3 separate regions of the Homo sapiens genome follow, and all the other regions are linked to region 2. The links are contacts of gene promoters, found by promoter capture Hi-C in blood cells and fetal thymus (Javierre and others, 2016). All regions are on one chromosome and are shown on one strand. Each heading gives the region's core, a stretch centred on a gene start or on the middle of the fragment in contact. The rest is flanking DNA. Distances are from core to core; before and after follow the strand shown.

The links. The method cuts DNA at HindIII sites, captures the fragments that hold promoters and counts their contacts. A CHiCAGO score of 5 or more calls a contact.
Region 1: a contact is called between a fragment that was not itself captured here and the fragment with the promoter of EPN2 in region 2, in 7 of 17 cell types (total CD8 T cells, neutrophils, endothelial precursors and 4 more). The highest score is 7.7, in total CD8 T cells.
Region 3: a fragment that was not itself captured here is called in contact with the fragment with the promoter of EPN2 in region 2 in 11 of 17 cell types (megakaryocytes, naive CD8 T cells, total CD8 T cells and 8 more); the score reaches 7.8 in megakaryocytes.

What each region holds. Positions count from the first base shown.
Region 1 is chr17:19,456,368-19,459,155 of GRCh38, forward strand. The region is part of intron 1 of LOC105371574 (a long non-coding RNA gene); the gene reads right to left. Among named protein-coding and RNA genes, the nearest start is that of LINC02094, 39 kb to the left of the region's middle. RefSeq lists enhancers at 1,621-2,166, 2,167-2,713, 2,714-2,788. The HindIII fragment of the contact is 1,384 bases long and covers 635-2,018 here.
Region 2 is chr17:19,235,932-19,238,631 of GRCh38, forward strand. EPN2 (epsin 2) reads left to right here and starts at 1,435. Exons shown (of 11, transcript NM_014964.5): 1 at 1,435-1,600. RefSeq lists a silencer at 1,343-1,812. The HindIII fragment of the contact is 5,263 bases long and covers 1-2,700 here.
Region 3 is chr17:19,432,595-19,435,432 of GRCh38, forward strand. No RefSeq gene overlaps it. Among named protein-coding and RNA genes, the nearest start is that of LINC02094, 16 kb to the left of the region's middle. RefSeq lists an enhancer at 603-1,141. The HindIII fragment of the contact is 178 bases long and covers 1,395-1,572 here.

The DNA.
Region 1 (2,788 bases), core at 77-2,576, 220 kb after region 2:
GATTGTTTATGTGTACTCCTTGGCAGAATCCAGGCTTCTCTTCCTCCTAGCCTGGTGGTCACTCACTAGCTTTACAAAGGCAATTGAGTTTTGGGAAAGGGCTATTAAAATTTAAACTATAAACTAAATGTCTCTCAAAGTTAGCTTGGCCGAAGCCCAGGAATAATTAAAGGCAGCTTGAAGGCTAAAGGCAAGAGTGGGGTTGGCTAGATCAGATCTCCCCCTCTGCCATAATTTTCTCACTGTTACAATTTTTGCAAAGCCAGTTTCAATGTGACTGGAGGGAGGAGAGGGTCCTTGTTCTCAGGAAAACAAAATCAGTCTGTGGAGGGAGATCTGTCCTCCCCTGTGGCTACTCAGTGATTATAGCGCTGCACAGTTGACCCTCGAACAACACAGGTTTGAACGGCATGAGTCCACTTACACGCAGCTCTTTTTCAACCGAATGAGGATGAAAAATACAGTATTCATGGGATGCAAAGCCCACATTTACAGAGTGTTGACTTTTCCTGCAAGGAGGTTTGGCAGGGCTGACTGTGGAAGTTGAGTATGTGGGGATCTGGTTATATGCCATTGGTCCTGGAACCAGTCCCCACATAGATCAAGGGACGACTGTATTTGATATTATTTAGGAAGCTTCTGAGCTCAGATTGGCCATTGGTTGAAAGAGTTATTATCAAAGTTCTAGAATCAATAGAAAGGAGTGTCTGTGTTACAATAAGAGGTGGTGGAGACCAAGGTTTTAGGCAGGCGAAGCCTCCACGTAGCAGGCTTCAGAGAGAATAGAGTGTTAATGTTTCTTGTCAGACTTGAGAGTCTGTTCTGTCAATCTTAAGGCCTCTGTGTTGATGTTCATGCTGGTCAGCTGTGCCAGAATTCCAACAGGGAGAAGGGTATAATGAGGCACACCTGATTCCCCCTTCTCATCATGGCCTGAACTGGTTTTGCAGGTTAACTTTGAAATGCCCTCGGCTAAGGGGAGGGGTCTGTACAGATGTTTGGGGGGCTTAGAATTTAATTTTTTGTTTACAGTGGTTTTCTGCAGCTCACCACTTAACATTAAATCTGTTTCCTCTGTTCCTAAATTGGCAAGCTGATCTTATCTATTCAAATGCAGAAAATCTTTTTTTTTTTTTTGAGACGGAGTCTCACTGTCACCCAGGCTGGAGTGCAGTGGCACAATCTTGGCTCACTGCAAACTCCACCTCCTGGGTTCAAGCGATTCTCCTGCCTCACCTCCCAAGTAGCTGGGATTACAGACACACGCCACCATGCCCAGCTAATTTTTGTATTTTTAGTAGAGATGGGGTTTCACCATGTTAGCCAGGCTGGTCTTGAACTCCTTACCTCAAGTGATCCACCTGCCTTGGCCTCCCAAAGTGCTGGGATTACAGGCGTGATCCACTGTACCTGGCTCAAATGCAGAAATTCTGAAGCCTGAAGTCCCTGTACAGTTGGAGCTTTTGATAAAACTTCAGGTTTCTTTAAAGGGCCTTCTTCAACACTCCACCCCTAGGCTGTGTTCAAAACTGCAGCGTAACTGAGAAAACGGTGGCAGCCTGGGGTGAATGCAGTCCCTCCCTTTTCCTAATCCATGAAACTCCTCTACATGAAAACCACTTGAAAGTTACAGACATGGAGGGAGGGACTTTATGTCTTCCTTGGGGGCAGCCAAGACAAAGAGGGATGCTAAGCAGATTATCTTGGTATTAATCATTCAAATGCAGGAGTGGAGACTTCAGGACTCAGGCCTAGCAGGGGAAGGTTGTGGCTCATGAACCCCTGCTTACAGCCTGGCACCCTCCTACTGCAACCGTGCTCTACGGACAGGTTTTCATCATTCATCCTCATGTTCCACAAGGTGTTCCAGAAATCCTCTGCCCCATTCCACACACCCACCGCAGTAGCCTGGTCAAGTGATTTCAAGTGGGTCCTCACCACTAAAAAGAGGAAGATGGACAAACTTTTACTCGCGTCCTTGTGAAGAGCCCACCAAACAGGCTTTATGTGAGCAATAAAGCTTTTAATCACCTGGGTGCAGTCGGGCTGAGTCCGAAAAGAGAGTCAGCAAAGGGAGATAGGGGTGGGGCCGTTTTATAGGATTTGGGTAGGTAAAGGAAAATTAGTCAAAGGGGGTTGTTCTCTGGCTGGCAGGGGTGGGGGTCACAAGGTGCTCAGTGGGGGAGCTTTTGAGCCAGGATGAGCCAGGAGAAGGAATTTCGCAAGGTAATGTCATCAGTTAAGGCGGGAACAGGTCATTTTCATCTCTTTTGTGATTCTTCAGTTACTTCAGGCCATCTGGATGTATACGTGCAGGTCACAGGGGATATGATGGCTTAGCTTGAGCTCAGAGGCCTGACACAAACATGAGTGAACGCCACAAATGGCACCTCCATATGAGGAACTGGGGCAAAAGGAATAGAGCGAGGGGGCTTTTGTTTGGCAAATTGTGCCTCTAAGACCCACTCTCAGGGTTGTATTAAAAAATGTAATCGATGTTTAAAAAGCTAACACAGAGCACAGGTATTTGAGGACTAAGCTCTGATTTTTTTCTTATCTTGCCCAAATTCCTATCTAAAGGGTCTGGAGAGTCATGCTCTACAAACCATAAATTCTCATCAGATGAGTTTTATTTAACCCTATATATCGTGACTTACTTTCCAATCTGACTCTGGCATAACATCACATGACAAAACAGAAAATCAAAATATTTTACCCCCAAACAAGTTTATTTGCCATACCTTGAAATGGCCCTGCAAAGCCATCCTTTGTGGGGGAGAAATTTGCA
Region 2 (2,700 bases), core at 185-2,684:
CACCAAGCAGTGGGAAGGGTGGTTAACTGGAGAGTGTTTCTAGCATCTAGAGCTACCAGTGTTTGACTTTTCAAAGGAAAAGTGGCTATGTGGTTTTGCAAACGTGTTACAAGCTCTCTCCATTTTTATCGTATTTATTGTATCACTAGCTAGACTAATAAAGAAAAAAGAGAAGATACAAGTAAACATAATCAGAAAGGGCAAAGAGGACATTACCACCGACCCCATACAAACACAAAAAAGCCCTCAAAAACTATTATGAACACGTCTATGCACACACACTAAAAAACTTACAATAAATAGATGAATTCCTGGAAAGATACAACCTTTTTTTTTTTTGCCAGAGAATGGAATTCCAGATCCTGGGTTGTTAGAACCTTAAGGGATACTTTCATCCCCTGGTTCCTGTACAGGGAGGAGGAATCTGAGGCTCAGAGAAGTACAGTGACTTGTTTAAGGTCCCTCAGTGAGTTAGGGCAGAGGAAGACTTCTGGCCACAGCTTCCCTGAAGCCAAGGCTAGGCAGAGTGTTGATGTCACCCAGGCAACAGGGATGGTGCCCTCTGCCCACCTAGCAAGCCCTGACTCATGCTCCGCGCCCCTGCTGTGAGAAGTCTCTGCTGACTCCCACCCTGATTGGAGCAGGTTAGTCAGCTTTGAGGTGCAGCCTCCAGTTCTGGCCCCTCCAGTTCCGGGACTCTCATTCGAGGCATTTGGGGCTGTCTCATTTCTGTGCCCAGCACAGGGCTTGGCACAGAGGAGGTGCTTTGTGGGTGCCCGCCAGTCAAGGGTTTCCGTTTTCGTGCCATGTAGGTAACCCCTTGCCATTCGTGCCCTTAGGTAACCCCTTGAGCAGCCTAAAGAAGCCTAGAGACTTCTCCGTTTTTGAGTATATTTTATTGACGTGAAATACACGCACGGAAAAGCGCACAAATCCAAAGTGTACTTCCGCGCATCTTCATAAAGTGAACACACTTGTAGCCTAAGAACCCAACCCTACCAGCGCCCGGCAGGCCCTGGCCCCCTTCCAGTCTCTCCTACTGAACAAGGTTTTTGAGTGAAACCGGCAGGCCGGAGCGTGAGTTTCTGCTTGACGGGGCGGGGTCTGCGCGTGCTGCCCGGCCGTGAGTGTGGGGGGGCCGTGAGTGTGTACGGGGTGGAGTGGCCTGAAGGGGATTAGAGTGCGCGCGTTCGGGTATTAATTTGCCAGGGTTTGTGTGGCGCTCGGGATTGGGGGTTTTTTGGGGGCTCGGGCGTCGACTGTGGGGCGCTGCGGAAGGGTGGGTCGTCCGCGTGGGGTCCTGGAGCGCAGGAGGCGGAGGGGAAGCCGCGCAGGGGCCACTAGGGAGGGGCTCTGGCGGGGTCGCAGGGGCGTGGTCTGCGGGCGTGGGGGCGGGACCTCGGGGCCTCGGGGGCGGGGCCTGAGGGCGCGCGCACGCGTCCGGCGCGCCCCCTCCCGGCCGCCATGTTGGCTGGTGTGTGGGTGTCAAACTGAGCCAGACGCGGCGGTGGCGGCGGCTCCGCGGGCTACGGTCGCTCCCGCCTCTCGAGCGCTGCCGGTGGCCGCAGCGGCGCACCCACGCCGGCCCGGAGGAGCAGAGGTGAGCCACAGCCCGTGGGGCTCCAAGGCCAGAGCGAGTCCCCGGGGCGAGGACCCTCCCCCTCTCCAGGGCGCGGACGCCCCCAGAGCACAGGCTCCCCTACCTCACCAGCCCCGCCAGGGCATGCGCCCCTGCCGCCCCGCTGGTCCCTACGCCAGGCTCTGGGGGATCCCCTTCTTTCCAACCAGGCCCCGCCCCACGGACTGGAGCATGGCCCCCTTCCCATCTGGATCCAGCTTTCCGCTGCAAGGATCTCCCCCCTTACCCGTCCCTATCACCGAGCATCTCCTTTTATGTCCCCAGAGTCCAGGGCGCCCCTTACTCCTACCTCGGATCCTGGAGCCCCGTTCATCTTGGAACAACCCCGCCCCCTCCCCAGAGCACGTTCCTCCTCTCCCCGAGCCCGGCGCCCCTTCCTCCTGAGCCCAGCCTGGTCTCCCGCCAGCCCCCGTGCAGAGCCCGGTCCGGGCGCCCTCCGGGAATCGGGGGAGGGGTCCTTATCTCTGTCCGGGATCCCGCCCGTCTCACCTTTCCTGGGGGCTGTAGCAGGGCCCCCTTCCGTCCTTGGGGACCAGGCTCCCCACTCCCCAGCCCCCACTCCCACGGAACAGCGGGGACGGGGGCGGAAGAGCCAGGCTCCAGCTGCCTTTTGTTCCGCGTGGGATGGCAGAGACCCACCCGGCCCGGCGGTCCTGCTCGGCTGATCCGGGTGGGTGAATGGGTGCGTGGGGTCTGGCCTCTTCCAGGAGAGACTTCCTCTCTCTCCCTGTGGGGCGGCTCCCCTAGAGCCGAGAGCCGAGCGCGTTGGGAGGCTGGCCTTTGCTAGAGGAGTCGGTGCCAACAGGTTTTTGTTTGCGACCTGAAGTTTGCCCAGTGGCTTTCCCTGGGGCAGCTTGAGCTCCCTGTGAATCCCCCCGCCGGAGCTTGTGGAAGGCCGTTTCTCCGCCCAAGGAGTCCGTCTGGGCGACTCCTTCACAGTTGTGCTTCCCTGGGGACGTATCTAAAATCTGTGCTTTAAGAGCGGAGAGGGCTTAACCATCATTAGGGTTCAGATGAGGGAAACTGAGGCCCAGAACTGCAGTAATTTGCCCAAGGTCACG
Region 3 (2,838 bases), core at 234-2,733, 200 kb after region 2:
TAGACAATGTGATCCTCATGAAATCTTTGTGTGAGAGAGGAAAGAGGGAAGTTAATCTATGATGAAGATCAATAGTTGAGAGGGAAGGGGTCTTCCCTGGCATCCTTCATTCATTTACAACATTTTACAAAATAATTTAGGTAAGAAAAAAGACTAATGTATAATCAGGGAAACAAAAGTTACAGCTTCCTAGGTTACAGCTGCCAGTTTATGTGACTCAGGTCCCATAATCACATTCCCTTAAGGCTCAAAATATTTTAAGGTTCCAAAAGCTTAGATTTTGAATTACTTATTTTCACACCCTATATATGTTAACCACGTATTTGCTTTATCTTATGTACAACGTCACTGAGCACCAATCAGAATTGTAGGAATGTCACCTTTGCTTCTCCATTTCCATGTAACAGAATGTATAAATACTATCTCGTGTAGCCCACTTGGGGAGACATTTTTGGTTTGTTCTGAGTCTGTATTTCCCAGAGAATTAGTCCTCAAACTTCACTCGGGATAAAACTAACTTTAAATTTCTTTAAGTTATAGTGCCTGTTATGTAACCTTTCTGTCAATAGTATCCTGCTCACAGCACCAAAACTTAGGGGGCAAGGGAAAATTCTGCTGAAAAATCAACTCACAATAGGTAAATTAATAGGAGAAATGACATAGAAATGTACTAATATCCACAGAAGGAAAATCGCAGTGATTACCCCCACTCCCCAGTGGGGTTCTGAAGCTTATGTACTATCTTGAGGTTACATTAACAATGGGGGCTCACAGCAGGGCCAAAACCAGATTACAGTGTTAGATCAGTTTATGGCGGCAACAGAGGTTATGGAGGGGAAGAAGAGGAGGGCTGGCTAGCAAAGGGGGTCTTGTTATGTAGATGAAGCCTCACAGGTAGCGGCCCTCGAGAGAGAATAGGTGGTGAATGTTTCTGTTAGACTTTAAAGGTGTCAGACTCTCGCTTAATCTTTCCCAGATCTGGATGAGGGAAGGCCTCAGAGACAGCCTGGCTTCATCAGTGCAGATTTCTCTACAGATGCAAATCTCCCCCACAAAAGGCAGCTTTTTAGTTATTTTTGTATTTCCAACCCTTCTGAATATCTGCCTTGAGCTATGTCGAGAAAATATATTTTATGGTAAAATCATTTGATTTCCTTCAGATGCTTTGATATTGTGATTTTGATTTTTGTTCCTGGTTCCTGGCATACCAGCTCCTAAACTCTTGGGATGTCTGGAGTGATAAGTGTCTTTTTGTATGCTAGTGAGATGATTAGTGGCTGGGGGTTCCCAGATAGCCTTAGGATGGGGCTGGTTGACACGGAAACCAACCATACAATTAGAGGTTTGGCACTTTCAGCCCCACCTTCTAACACTGGAGAGTAGAGAGGGCCTGAAGCTTGAGTTGATTACCAATGGCCAATGATTGATCAATCATGCCTACATAATGAGCCTCCAGAACATTCCAAAAAGATGGGGTTCAGAGAGCTTCTGAATTGCTGAATAGATGGAGCTGTCTGTAGGGTGGCATGCTTACAGGATGCCATGGGGGTGTGCTGCAGGACAGGACATGGAAGCTTATTGCCCCTTACCTTCCATACCTTGCCCTATGGATCACTTCTGCCTGGCTATTCATCTACATCCTCTGTAATATTCCTTACTAATATAATAAGCTGGTAAACATAAGTAAATGTTTCCTTGAGTTCTGTGAACTTCCTAACAAATTAGAACGGGGTTGTGGGAACCCCAATTTATAGCTGCTCAGTTAGATGCATAGGTGACAACCTGCTACTTGCAATTGGTGTCTGAAAATAGGCCAGTCTTGTGAAAATAGAACTAAGCCTTAACCTGTGGGATCTGACACTATGCCCAGGTAGAGTGTCAGAATTGAATTGAATGGGAGGACTCCCACTTGGTATCCACTGTAGAACTGCTTAGTGTGTGAGGACAAGCCCACAGACATCTGGTGTCAGAAGTGAAGTGTTGTGTTGAGTGGTGTGAGTAGGAAAAGCAGTTTGTTTTTTTCATCTCTCTTATTAAGACCCAAAGTAAGGGCTTGAGCCCCTATAATAAGTGTAGCAGCTCCTGCCATAGCTCGAAGGCATCCAGGTACCCAGAAGAACTGAGAAGTATGCTACTGGTCTATCGTCTAATACCAACTTTTGAATTAAATTCTACTGTGGCAGGCCAGGTCTCACTAACAGCTGAACAGGCAGGCCTCCATGCCAACTGCTTCGGCACTGAGTGGTTAGGTTAAATATTAAAAGCTGAAAGACCCAGGGCCCCTATACAAAGGCTGGAATATAACAGAAGCCCACCAAGAGTCTTGCTTAGGCCTTTTCTGGGCCTTGAAGCATGACAGGATAATGAAGGAATTCTTAACAGGACCTGTTTAGAATTAAACAAGTTTTATTTTTTATTTTTTAAATGGAGTCTCACTGTGTTGCCCAGGCTGGAGTGCAGTGGCACAATCTCAGCTCACTGCACCTCCGCCTCCTGGGTTCAAGCGATTCTCTTGCCTCAGCTTCCTGAGTAGCTGGGACTGTAGGCATGTGCCACCACGCCCAGCTAATTTTTGTATTTTTGGTAGAGACGGGGTTTCACTATATTGGCCAGGCTGGTCACAAACTCCTGACCTCAGATGATCCACCCACCTCCGCCTCCCAAAGTACCGGGCATACAATAGGTGTAAGCTGCCATGCCCGGCCAAGATTAAACAAGTTGGGTTTTTTGTTTTGTTTTTGTTATTTTTGAGACAGAATTTTGCTCTTGTTACCCAGGCTGGAGTGCAATGGCACGATCTCGGCTCACTGCAACCTCCACTTCCCGAGTTCAAGAGAT